Linked DNA regions of Homo sapiens: region 2 is linked to region 1. The links are contacts of gene promoters, found by promoter capture Hi-C in human tissues and cell types (Jung and others, 2019). All regions are on one chromosome and are shown on one strand. Each heading gives the region's core, a stretch centred on a gene start or on the middle of the fragment in contact. The rest is flanking DNA. Distances are from core to core; before and after follow the strand shown. Region 1 holds the start of NXF1 (nuclear RNA export factor 1). Region 2 has its middle 12 kb from the start of ZBTB3.

What was found. The method cuts DNA at HindIII sites, captures the fragments that hold promoters and counts their contacts. A contact is called where the count stands out against the background at its distance.
Region 2: a fragment that was not itself captured here is called in contact with the fragment with the promoter of NXF1 in region 1 in 1 of the 25 tissues and cell types used here (stomach).

Annotation. Positions count from the first base shown.
Region 1 is chr11:62,802,503-62,809,183 of GRCh38, forward strand. NXF1 (nuclear RNA export factor 1) reads right to left here and starts at 2,938. Exons shown (of 21, transcript NM_006362.5): 1 at 2,827-2,938; 2 at 1,290-1,476; 3 at 917-1,070. The coding sequence starts at 2,854. It overlaps STX5 (syntaxin 5), which reads right to left. Exons shown (of 11, transcript NM_003164.5): 11 at 4,358-5,126. The coding sequence ends at 4,967. RefSeq lists enhancers at 2,731-3,230, 3,197-3,386, 3,407-3,456. The HindIII fragment of the contact is 17,631 bases long and covers 1-6,681 here.
Region 2 is chr11:62,738,667-62,745,347 of GRCh38, forward strand. No RefSeq gene overlaps it. Among named protein-coding and RNA genes, the nearest start is that of ZBTB3, 12 kb to the right of the region's middle. The HindIII fragment of the contact is 7,631 bases long and covers 1-6,681 here.

The DNA of each region.
Region 1 (6,681 bases), core at 1,688-4,187:
CATAGCTCACTGCAGCCTTCATTTCCTAGGCTCAAGCGATCCTCCTGTCTCAGCTTTCTGGAGTAGCTAGGACTACAGGCATGTACTACCATGCCCGGCTAATTTTAAAATTTTCTGTAGAGAAGGGGTCTTGCTGTATTTCCCAGACTGGTCTTGAACTCCCAGCCTCAAGTGATCCTCCACCTCGGCCTCTCAAAGTGCTGGGATTACAGGCATGAGCCACTGTACCCAGCCCATTTACACTTATAATCTCTCAAAAAAAAATCAATTTTATTTATTCTAAAAGTTCCAAGATATTATTTACACCTTGCCTGCCCCTCAGAGAACTCCAGGGCACTCCAGGGACTCCAAGCCCCACACTCAGCCTGAGCCAAATGAAGACATCCAGAGGAATTACTCCCTCCCCCAACCAAAATTTTCATATTTCTCTTCCACCCCTTCTCTGAACCTGCTCTAAGGTGTTGGAAGATACTGATTCCTAGGAGAAAAGATAGATACTTGAGTGTGGAGTAATCAGATGACAAGGAGAATTTTTGGGCTGGGTGCGGTGGCTCATGCCTATAATCCCAGCACTTTGGGGGGCCAAGGCGGGCAGATCATGACGTCAGGAGTTCGAGACCAGCCTGGCCAATACAGTGAAACCCCGTCTCTACTAAAAATACAAAAATTAGCCGGGCGTGGTGGTGGGTGTCTGTAGTCCCAGCTACTCGGGAGACTGAGGCAGAATAGCTTGAACCCGGGAGGCGGAGGCTGCAGTGAGCCGAGATCACGCCACTGTACTCCAGCCTGGGTGACAGAGCAAGACTCCATTTAAAAAAAATAATAATAATAATTTTTGTGGAATAAAATTAAACATCTCCACTCTCAGCGTGGCCTCCTATCTCTACTGTACCATCTACTTTCTCAAAGTACTCACTGTAATCTTGAACCAGTTCTTTGAGGTCCCATCCTGGCTGGTGCCAGCCCCTCCTCTCTCTGGAGGAGCTCTGTCTCTCCGCACAGTAACATGAATGCGATCTCGATCATGCCAAGTATCACCCCGACGGTTAGGTCGGGTGGTATAGGGGTTGCTGTGGGTAAGCAGAGAATAAAATGACCACAAATGCTAGGAAAGTCTTCTCAAAGGCCTTCCTGCACTGTTAGTGGGACTACAACTAAGACTGTTTAATCACTAAGCTAGTCCTGGCATTTCTCACTCTAACAGGTGGGAAAGGAAATGACATGGACAGTAAAAGGGCCATATAATCTCATGAGCCACTAAATTCAAACCAGACCAACTGGTCACTCACTATCGTACTCGGGGACCATCCTGGGCATCACTCATTGCCACATCTCCATCATCTTCCTCAAGGCGGGAAGACCGAATACCAGAACCGCCTCTTCCAGACCTACGGTTTCCTTCACCATATTTCCACCGGAAGGGACCCCGGCCTTTCTTCTTTCTTTGAGGGAAATTAACGCGTTCATCATCGTGTTCTAGAGTTAGAAACAGGAACACAAATTAGAAGTAAGTAACTGGTCCGGTTTGGTGTGGCAATCATAGCTTCTAGTACTCTGAACTATTGGAAGAGATACATACTAACGACAGAGGCCATCTCCATGCAAACTCCGCTCCCTATCCACAGGAAAGAACCCTCTCTGTGGGAGGGCAGCATCAGGGAAAAGTTACTGGAAAACTGTGTAGGGCTTTTGAAAAATGAAGTAGAAACTGGAATTAGAGAGAAGCAGGATGTAGAAATGTGAGACCCAAAAGTGTAACTGAACACAAATCAGACCTCTGAAAGCCACCTGAAATCTGCCACTCAGTACTTTGTCTATACAGTGCAGACGCCAGTTACAAATATGACCAGTTTAAGGATCCTCTAAAAATTCTCCTTGTTCTCAAACTGCCACTTTGAAGTTTTGTGAGGAGCTCTTCGTTTCCATGGCCAGAAATGTCCTTTAACTCAGGAGACAAATTCTAGACTCAGGCTCTAGTGGCAGTGCCAGGCTAGGGTGCTTAACCAGGGACCCTGGAATGCTCTCCAGGAAGATGACCTTCTGATTCATGCTGTGTAGGACTGGCGTCTTAAAAAAGGTCCCTAACTCCCAAAAGAGGTCTGCCTAATACCCAGCACTCTGTAAACAATGAATCTCAACAAATGACCCTAGGAAAAAAGAACATAGAAGGCGCAGCTAACATTCACTGAGAACTTTCTCCAGTGCCGGCCACTATGCTTCAGGCACTTGATAGGAATGATCTCATTTCCCCTCCCCACACACACTCTTAAGAAATGCTGTTGTTATTCCACATTAAGGGGGTGGAAAACGAGAGTTTTAAATTCACGGTTTCAACCTCCACCACGCACTCCTAACTTACTACAAAGAACTAACACCCAGTGTAGTGTTCAGACTAGAATATCCAGTTGATGTGTAAGTCTCGAATATTAAGCCAAAGCCCAGGCCCGAGAGTTCAAGACCGACTGGACGCAGTAAAAAATAGGGCATCAGGGCAGCCCACGAGCAGGGCACTCACTCACATTAAAGGAAGAGTCAGGCCGCCAAACCTAACTGACAGGCATCAACCACCCACAAAGTTCAAAGGAATCCCGTCACCCTACCCCCGAGCCATCCGCTCCGAGCCGCAGGTCCCCCAACACCAGGATGCCAGCAGGAATCCAGGAGTCAACAACTCGGGTGTCCACCTCGAGTGCCCGGCCCCCCGCGCGCCGCTCCCCGCGGACGCCGGGCCCCTAGCGGCCTCACGCCCCGGGGGCTGAGGCCTAGGCCGGCGCCGCCCACCCGCGCCCCAGATAGCCAGTTCCCGACCCGAAGACCAGCACTTACCGCTGTACGACTTCCCCTCGTCCGCCATGCCACAGCGAAGATCAAGGGCGGGCTCAGGCGCTGGCCGCTACGCCGGCAAACAACCTAACTCCCAAGCGCTCAGGACCGAAGTGTCCCTACGCCGGGCGCCACCGCATTTATACAGCAAAGCACGTCGCGCGCCGCTGACGTCCCAGGCTGTGGGCGGTGCCGCCGCCCGGAGAAAGCGCGGCCCCCTGCGCGTGCGCACACTTAAGGCCGTCGTTCGAGGGGCGGGGCCTGGCCCTCCACGCCCCGCCCAAGACCTGAACTTGCGGAACCCCGGCTGGCAGCCAGCATGTCCCCGCACCTTTTCATCTGTCCGCTGACGCTGCCCTGGCAGCTTCAGAGTTAGTGCTAGAGCACAGTGCTGCCGCCGCAGCCCAGAACTCAGTGAGGAAGGGGGCCGCACAAAGGGCTTCAGAGGAATGGAGACCGCGCCTCCAGGTGGGAGTGATGGCTCAGACCCCTACCGGAATCTAGCCAGTGTTTCAGCTCGGCTCCTTGTCTATACCTCGCTTTCTTCGCCTATAAGATGGATTAACAAATCACGAAGTTGAGAATTAGAATGTGAGCTCGAACGTTGACTAATTAAGGGCTTTTTTTCCTCGAGGGCTTGACTCGGCAGGTACTATGCCTGGCACATGGTAAAAACTCAACATATATTTGTGAAATAAATGAATTTGTGTTATGAATTTCCCCCACCCCGCCCCGCCCTGAGTTGCTGAGTCAAATGATACGACATCTGTCAGGGGTTTGGCGAGCATTGTCTTCACAGACCTTCCATCAATGGCGTCCCCTACTAGAAACCCATCGTGTCAACGGGGCAGACAGTGAAGCTCACCAGCAGTGGCAACTTGCTGGAGATGCCGAGGAGGACATTTTAAAATATCAGGGCCTTGGGCTCTCCTAGACCCCCAAAAGCACCACCACCAGCCCCTGACTGTTGTCTCTATAGCTTCAACTTCCTTTGGAATGTATGAGACAGGGGCACTCGAGTGACCTCAGAATGTGGTTGTGAGTCTCGGTCAGGAAGAACAAAGCACACTAATCTCCCTGGACGGTGGGTATTCTGGGCAGGTGTCTCCATTCTCTGTGACTGGCTTTGATTTGGTGAAGTGCTTGGAGGGAATCAAAAGCCTCAACTGGAGTTGGGAACAAATTCTTCACCTTCCACTCCTGGAAGCAGGCAGAGCTTCTGCCTCGCTTAGCTCAAGGAAGAATTACGGCCAAATAGTTGGAGGATACAGATGAAACAGGTCCAAACACTGCTTGAGATAGTCCTGGAAGTTGCCCCCAATCAGGGACCCCCTCTGGGATCCTGCTCCCCTGTGTGAAAGGAAGTTTCCACGCTAATGAAGTGTTGCAACACTTGGTTCTCCCCTGCCTAGAGGCAGCTGTGTGTCAGAGCCCAAAATAGCCTGTGTCAGCAGTGATACCTGGCAGAGCCATTAGCCCAACCCTTTCAGTTCTGGTACTGGGCAGTGGGCTCTCTCCACTCGCTGCCTAGGCCCTTCGACGCTCCCACCCAGAAATGATGACATGGCTAGTGAGGCTGACAGTCTTGCTGTAATTGGGAGAAAACGAGCTGCAGCACATTTGGCAGATTGAGTCACCAGCAGCCAATGTCAGGGGTTGTGCAGGCAGCTGAAGGGCTCAGGGCTCCCTGCCTCACATGGTGAAAGAGGAAGAAAGAGGTCAATTGGGAAAATTGGTCCCTGGGGCTGCTTCCTCTCTTCACTCACAGGAAGGTGGGTAAGGGCATCATCTCCCTTTGCTGCCAACGCTTCCTTTGGGAGAGGCTGGAGAGGGTTTATAAAAATCTCCTAGTGGAAACAACCTCCCCCACTGGCCCCCAGCTGGCCTCTGCTCCCTTCCAGTCACTTCACAGCAGAGTTCAAATCTAGAACCCTGTGTGTTTCATAGGCCTGAGGGTGGTGGGGGGAGGACAGGGTGGCCAGAGGCAAGGGGTGGGGGATCAGGGGCAGTGGTCATTCTTAGCAGTTCCAGGGAAACAGGGCCTTTCTCCCAAGTACCCTGCACAGGCTCAGTGGCAGCACTGGCCACTTGCCTTCCCAGGAGGGTCCCAAACCCCAACAGAGTGCCTCAGAGTAGAGAGGGTTCAAGCAAGGAAGACCACAAAGATGATGAAGAAGACAATGAGGATGAGGAAGATTTTGACCATGAGCCACCGGTTGGAGGTGACAGACTGGAAGTACTTGAGGATCTCTGAATGGGCGGCCTCAACGTCCAGCTGGGCTCCTAGCACGTTCTCGTCGATCCTGGGGACAAGGCCGGGAGAAGAGGAAACAAAAGGACACTGGATTAAAAAGAATGCTGTTGAAGTCCATTTATTGACATGGAAAGATGGTCACAATATGATCCCATTCTTATATATATTTGTGTATAGAAAAGGCTTTGGAAGGGTACTATAAACAAGTTATTTCTGGTTTGAAAACCAACTCTGCCATTTATTAGCTTAAGACTCTAAGTTAGTCTAACTTCAAGCTTCATTTTCCTCACCGGCAAAATGAGGATAACCCAAACCCTACCTTCTCTCAGGCTACTGTCTGTCTTCAATGAGTTAGTATAAAGTCCCTAACCCACAAGAGCCCCGAAAATGTTAGTTACAATTTTTCCTCATCAGTATTTACATTTTTATCTGGTGAGTATGTATTATATTTATTGTAAGGGGAAAAATGTTCACAGACCATTGCAGTCAGGAAATCATGGTTCTGAGTGAAAAAGGAAAACATAATGACACGGACAGGAAATCAGGGGATAAAAAAAGCTCTATGGCCAACCATGGTGGCTCAGGCCAGTAATCCCAGCACTTTGGGAGGCTGAGGTGGGCAGATGGCTTGAGCTCACGAGTTTGAGACCAGCCTAGGCAACATGGCAAAACCCCATCTCTGCAAAAAATACAAAAATTAGCTGGGTGTGCTGGTGTGACCCTACAGTCCCAGCTACTCGGGAGGCTGAGGTGGGAGGATAGCTTGAACCCAGGAGGTTGAGGAGCTTGATGCTGCAGTGAGATTGTGCCACTGCACTCCAGCATGGGTGACATAGCAAGACTGCCTCAGGGGGAAAAAAAAAAAAAAACACCAAAAAAAAAGGTATATGGACCCTAGTTTTGGCCAGGCTGTAATCCCAGCACTTTGGTAGGCCCAGGCAGGAGGATCACTTGAGCCTAGGAGTTGGAGACCAGCTTGAACAACATGGTAAGACACTTGTCTCTACTAAAAAAATAATAATAAATAAGTATATTGGAGGATGTGAGTAGATTACATGCAAATATGACAAGATTTTATGGGACTTGCGGATGCATGGATTTTGGTTTCCTCTGGGGCTCTTGGAGCCAATGCCCCACAATACCAAGGGATGAGTGTGCTTAATCTGATAGTTAGCACCTTGAACAAGTGATTAAATTGACATCAGCAATAAAAGGGATAACCTCATCAAGTGCCTACTAATGTAATCATCGCAGCACTAATTTAATCAGTGTTAGATTTAATTTAACATTGAACAAAACAAGTTGATGTCATGAAAAATAAAACAAAAGGCCCACTGAAGACACACATCAAATACAAAATGTGAATCTTCCTGGGTCTTAAATTGAAAGAAAAAAGATAAAAACTTTTGTTTTAAATATCAAATGGGGGCCGGACATGGTGGCTCACACCTGTAATCCCAGCACTTTGGGAGGCCGAGGCAGGCCGATCACGAAGTCAGGAGATTGAGACCATTCAGGCTAACATGGTGAAACACTGTCTCTACTAAAAATACAAAAAATTAGCCGGGCATGGTGGCGGGCACCTGTAGTCCCGGCTATTCGGG
Region 2 (6,681 bases), core at 2,555-5,054, 63 kb before region 1:
CTGGTATAGATTTTTCATGACAGTGTTGTTAGATGTACTTATATACAGAGGCGACAGCTTGCAGAGGACGACATAGTAAGGATAGGCAGAAAGAATTGTCTTCCTTTATTTTTTCAGAAGCCCAAACCAAAGTGGGAAATATGGCCGGGCGCTCTAGCTCATGCCTGTAATCCCAGCACATTGGGAGGCTGAGGCCAGCGGATCACCTGAGGTCAGGAGTTCAAGACCAGCCTGACCAACAGGGTAAAACCCTGTCTCTACTAAAAATACAAAAATTAGCCTGGCAAGATGACACACGCCTGTGGTCTCAGGTACTGGAAACTAGACAATTATAAATGAGCCAGGCTGGGCATGGTGGCTCACGCCTGTAATCCCAGCACTTTGGAAGGCAGAGGTAGACAGATAGATAGCTTGAGTCCAGGAGTTCAAGACCAGCCTGGGGAACACAGTGAAACCCTGTCTCTATAAAAGATGCAAAGATGGCCGGGCACGGTGGGTCAGGCCTGTAATCCCAGCACTTTGGGAGGCCGAGGCAGGTAGATCATGAGGTCAGGAGATTGAGACCATCCTGGCTAACACAGTGAAACCCCGTCTCTACTAAAAATACAAAAAATTAGCCGGGCGTGGTGGTGGGCGCCTGTAGTCCCAGCTACTCGGGAGGCTGAGGCAGGAGAATGGCATGAACCCGGGAGGTGGAGCTTGCAGTGAGCAGAGATCACGCCACTGCACTCCAGCCTGGGCAACAGAGCGAGACTCCGTCTCAAAAAAAAAAAAAAATGCAAAGATTAGCTGGGCCAGGTGTTCACCTGTAGTCCCAGCTATTCTGGAGGCTAAGGTGGGAGGATTGCTTGAATCTGGAGGGCAGCGGTTGCAGTGAGCCAAGATCCTGACACAGCACTCCAGCCTGGGTGACAGAGTGACGTGTCTCAATAAATAAATAAGCCCAAATATACTAAAGTAACTTTTTGTTTTTTGAGACAGAGTCTCACTCTGTTGCCCAGTCTGGAGTGCAGTGGTGCCATCTTGGCTCACTGCAACCTCTGCCTCCCAGGTTCAAGTGATTCTCGTGTCTGAGCCACCCAAGCAGCTGGGATTACAGGCATGTGCCACCACGCCCGGCTAATTTTTTTGTATTTCCTTTTTAGTAGAGACATGGTTTTGCCATGTTGGCCAGGGTGCTCTTGAACTCCTGGCCTCAAGTGATCCACCCACTCGGGCTCCCAAAGTGCTGGGATTACAGGTGTGAGCCACTATGCCTGGCCAAAAGTAACCATTTTGTTTAATTTTTTCTTTTTCTTTTAATTTTAAGTTCCAGGATCCATGTGCAGGATATGCAGGTTTGTTACATAGGGAAACGTGTGCCTCGGTGGTTTGCTGCACCTATCAACACATCACCTCGGTATTAAGTCCAGCATGTATTAGCTATTTTTCCTCATGTTCTCCCACCCCCCGCCACAGCCCCTGTTAAATTAATTTCTTATTCTCCTTAATATTCCATACACATTCAGATTCCTTCTCCCCTACAAAAATATTTGCTATTTTGTCCTTGCTATTTCTCATACTTAGATCATTCATACACTATATTTATTTTTTCATTAAACTATTTTAAAACCTTTGGAGTAAAGCATTTAAGTATTTATTTAATAAACCCTTCAGACCTCATGCTAAAGAAAACACCTAAGTGAACATTTTAAATTTTAATAGGTGCTTATCTATAGTATCCTCATTTCTCTTAAAAAAAAAAAAAAAAAAAAAAAAAAAAAAAAAGACCATCCTGGCTAACACGGTGAAACTCCGTCTCTACTAAAAATACAAAAAAAAAAAATTAGCTGGGCTTGGTAGCGTGTGCCTGTAGTCCCAGCTACTCGGGAGGCTGAGGCAGGAGAATGGCGTGAACTCAGGAGGTGGAGCTTGCAGTGAGCCGAGATCACGCCACTGCACTCCAGCCTGGGTGACAGAGAGAGACTCCATCTCAAAAAAAAGAAAAGATTATCACATCTTCTAAAAACATACATACTAGCCGGGTACGGTGGCTCATGCCTGTAATCCCAACACATTGGGAGTCTGAGGCGGGTGGATCACTTGAGGTCCGGAGTTCAAGACCAGCCTGGCCAACATGGCGAAACCCCATCTCTACTAAACTGCTGGGGAGGCTGAGGCGGGAGGATCACTTGAACCTAGAAGCCGGAGGTTGCGGTGATCTGAGATTGCGCCACTGCACTCCAGCCTGCGGCAGTGAGACTGTCTCAAAAAAAAAAAAAAGAAACATACATAATAGAGCAGAATAAAAACAAACCTGTCCTTTACCTGTCATCTCATATTTTGCAAGGGCTGAGGTCCTCACAGAGAAGAGAAATAGGCTGGGCGCTGTGGCTCATGCTTGTAATCCCAGCACTTTGGGAGGCTGGATCACCTGAGGTCAGGAGTTTGAGACCAGCCTGGTCAACATGGTGAAACCCCATCTCTACTAAAAATAGAAAAAAATAACCAGGTGTGGTGGTGTGCACTCTGTAACCCCAGCTACTCAGGAGGCTGAGACAGGAGAATCGCTTGAAACGCAGGAGGCGGAGGTTGCAGTAAGCAGAGATTGCATGCCACTGCACTCCAGCCTGGGCAACAAGAGTGAAACTCCATCTCAAAAAACAAAACAAAAAAAAAATGAGGAAGGGCATTTCTTGCTTAGTGCCTTTTAAACACCTGATAGAACTCTCTGGAAGCTGTGTTGGACATGGGTGCAAGTTGCAGTATGGTGCAGTCCTGGCTCAGTAGGAGGTTCCATCAACCAGGAGCCCCTTTGTTATTCTGTTTCTGTTTTTTCATGGTGGATAATGTCTATGATGTTGTGGGTACTACATAGGTGAGACTATATAGCACAGCCTCTACCTTTATAAGTGGTGGCAATAAGCATGTGATTAACTGTCATACAACCACAGAGCAAACAGATTTCAGGGAAAAAAAAACACACTTTAGTCCTTTATCAATAACGCCCCCTTTCTCAATGGGCTAGACTCCTCTTTGTTCTTCCCTATACCTTTAAAGAATACAACTATCAGCTTACAAGAAAAACTTTTCCTAAGTCCAAGGACAGGAGAGGCGCAGTGGCTCACCCCTGCAATTCCAGCAATTTGGGAGGCCAAGGTGGGTGGATCACCTGAGGTCAGGAGTTCGAGACCAGCCTGACTGACATAATGAAACCCCATCGCTACTAAAAAAAATACAAAATTAGCCAGGTGTAGTGGCACGTGCCTGTAATCCCAGCTACTCAGGAGGCTGAGGCAGGAGAATTGTTTGAGCCCAGGAGGTGGAGGATGCAGTGAGCCAAGGTCATGCCATTACACGCCAGCCTGGTCAACCAGAGCAAAACCGTCTCAATCAATCAATCAATCAATCAAGTCCAAGGACAGAACAAACAAAAGTAAAATACCTTATTCCTCTTCTAAGCTTCTTAAATTGCTAGGCCTTGGTTTATTGACAAAATATTGTCATGATTGCATGTTTTATTTGCTTTACAATGGTTTCGTGGTCTTATTTTATTTCAAACACTTGATGTTATAGTAAGCTATCTTCTGCATCAATGAGGAAAAAATAAAACTGATATTTAAAAATGCATTTTAGAAATTTGGTGCAGTGGCCAGGCGCGGTGGCTCACGCCTGTAATCCCAGCACTTTGGGAGGCTGAGGCGGGTGGATCACAAGGTCAGGAGATCGAGACCATCCTAGCTAACACAGTGAAACCCCATCTCTGCTAAAAATACAAAAAATTAGCCGGGCGTGGTGGCGGGCACCTGTAGTCCCAGCTACTCGGGAGGCTGAGGCAGGAGAATGGCATGAACCCGGGAGGCAGAGCTTGCAGTGAGCCGAGATTGCGCCACTGCACTCCAGCCTGGGCGACATAGCAAGACTCTGTCTCAAAAAAAAAAAAAAAATTGTTGCACTAATCCTTTTATTAGCGCTGCTAAGAGATAGCACAGGGTCAGGCTTACATTTGTGTTTTATTGAGAAGCCCAGCTCCTAATGGAAATCTTAATGAACAGGGAAATGACAAAGGCAGTCTGATGCAGGTCTTGAGGACGTCCTCAAGGTCCTGAGGGAACCAGCCAGAGAGTGCCTCAACCTCTGTATTCAGAAGTTTGTGGAAGGAGAGGCTGCGCACTTTATCAGTCCTTGTTTCCACAGAGGATTTGAATATTTTGAATGAAGAAAAAGCATTCATGGTGAATGTGAAGGATTATATACCTTGGCACATGAGGGACACTGTTTCCCAAACTCATACCCACCACCTTCACAATGTTGCCAAAACCACTCACTACCTGTACTAATATATATGGATGTGTGTAGAAATATATGTGTGTGTGTATATATATATATATAGACAGTCTGGCTCTGCTGCCCAGGCTGCAGTGCAGTGGCACAATCTTGGCTCACTGCAACTTCCACATCCCAGGTTCAAGCAATTCTGCCTCAGCCTTCCAAGTAGCATGCACCACCATGCCTGGCTAAATTCTTTTTGTATTTTTAGTAGATACGGGGTTTCACCATGTTGGTCAGGCTGGTTTCAAACTCCTGACTTCAGGTGATCCACCCACCTCGGCCTCCTAAAGTTCTGGGATTATAGGCGTGAGCCATGGAGCCCAGTGTATTTTTTTTTTTTTTTTTTTTTTTGAGACGGAGTCTCACTCTGTTGCCAGGCTAGAGTGCAGTGGTGCGATCTCGGCTCATTGCAACCTCTGCCTCCTGGGTTCAAGCGATTCTGCTGTGTCAGCCTCCCAAGTAGCTGGGACTACAGGCACCCACCACCATGTCCAGCTAATTTTTGTCTTTAGTAGAGAAGGGGTTTCACCATCTTGGCCAGGATGGTCTGGATCTCTTGACCTCATGATCTGCCCACCTCAGCCTCCCAAAGTGCCAGGATTACAGGCATGAGCCACCACCCCCGGCCTATTTTTTTTTTTTTTTTTTTTTTTTAGAGACAGGGTCTTGCTCTGTAGCCCAGACTGGAGTGCAGTGGTGTGATCATAGCCTTGAACTCCTGGGCTCAAGGGATCCTCCTGCATCAACCTCTTGAGTAGCTGGGATTACAGCTTGAAGCACCTTGCCTGGCCCTAAATAAATATTTTTAAAGGAACCTTTGGACAGAGGAATATGTTAAATGAAACTACGGGGATGTAAGCAGCAAACTCCAGACCCTCAACCCGTAAAACAACCCCAGCTTCTTCAACAAATAAATTGCAAGGAAAAAGGGAAGGGAAACCTAGTAAAACTTAAGGCCAGGTTCAGTGGCGCACGCCAATGATCCTAGAACTTTGGGAGGCTGAAGGGGACAGATCTTTTGAGCCCAGGAGTTTGAGACCAATGTGGGCAACATGGCAAAACCCTCTGTCTACAAAAGATAGAAAAATTAGCTGCCACTAGGGTGCATGCCTGTAATCCCAGATATTCAAGAGGCTAAGGTGGGAGGATCACTTGAGCCCAAAAGGTTGAGGTTGCAGTGAGCTAAAATTGTGCCACTGCACTGAAGCCTGGGCAACAGAGTGAGACCCTGTCTCAAAAAGAAAAAGACAGTTAAGAGACATCAATCAAATAAATGCATGACACTACTTTGGATTCTAATTGGATTCTCATTGGGAAAAAGAGAAACTTGAGTAAGAATTATTGTCAGGGCCGGGTGCGGTGGCTCACACCTGTAATCCCAGCACTTTGGGAGGCCCAGGCGGGCGGATCACAAGGTCAGGAGATGGAGACCACGGTGAAACCCCGTCTGTACTAAAAATACACACAAAAAAATTAGCCGGGCGTGGTGGCGGGGCGCCTGTAGTCCCAGCTACTTGGGAGGCTGAGGCAGGAGAATGGCTTGAACCCGGGAGGCAGAGCTTGCAGTGAGCCGAGATCGCGCCACTGCACTCCAGCCTGGGTGACAGAGCGAGACTCCATCTCAAAAAATAAATAAATAAATAAATAATTGTCGGAGCCAGGGGTGGTGGCTCATGCCTGTAATCCCAGCACTTTGGGAGGCTGAGGCGGGCGGATTCCAAGGTCAAGAGATCGAGACCATCCTGGCTAACACGGTGTAACCCTGACTGTACTGAAAATACAGAATTAGCGGGATGTGTTGGCGGACGCCTGTAATTCCAGCTACTCGGGAGACTGAGGCAGGAGAATCGCTTGAACCCGGGAGGTGGAGGTTGCGGTGAGCCGAGATGGCGCAACTGCACTCCAGCCTGGGCAAGAGCAAAACTCTTATCTAAAAAAAAAAAAAAAAGGCCGGGTGCGTTGGCTTACGCCTGTAATCCCAACACTTTGGGAGGCCGAGGCGGGTGGATCACGAGGTCAGAAGATCCAGACCATCCTGGCTAACACAGTGAAACACCGTCTCTACTAAAAATAGAAAAAAAATGAGCTAGGCGTGGTGGCGGGCGCCTGTAGTCCCAGCTACTTGGGAGGCTGAGGCAGGAGAATGGTGTGAGCCCGGGAGGCAGAGCTTGCAGTGAGCCGAGATCACACCACTGCACTCCAGCCTGGGCGACCGAGCAAGACTCTGTCTCAAAAAAAAAAAAAAAAAAAGAATTATTGTCAGTTTTCTTGAGTGTGATAATAGTATTTAGTCTGCTGAAATTGCTTGCTGATGAAATTGTACAGGGCACTGTACAGCACTTCATATCACTTGACCCAATACACAAAAAA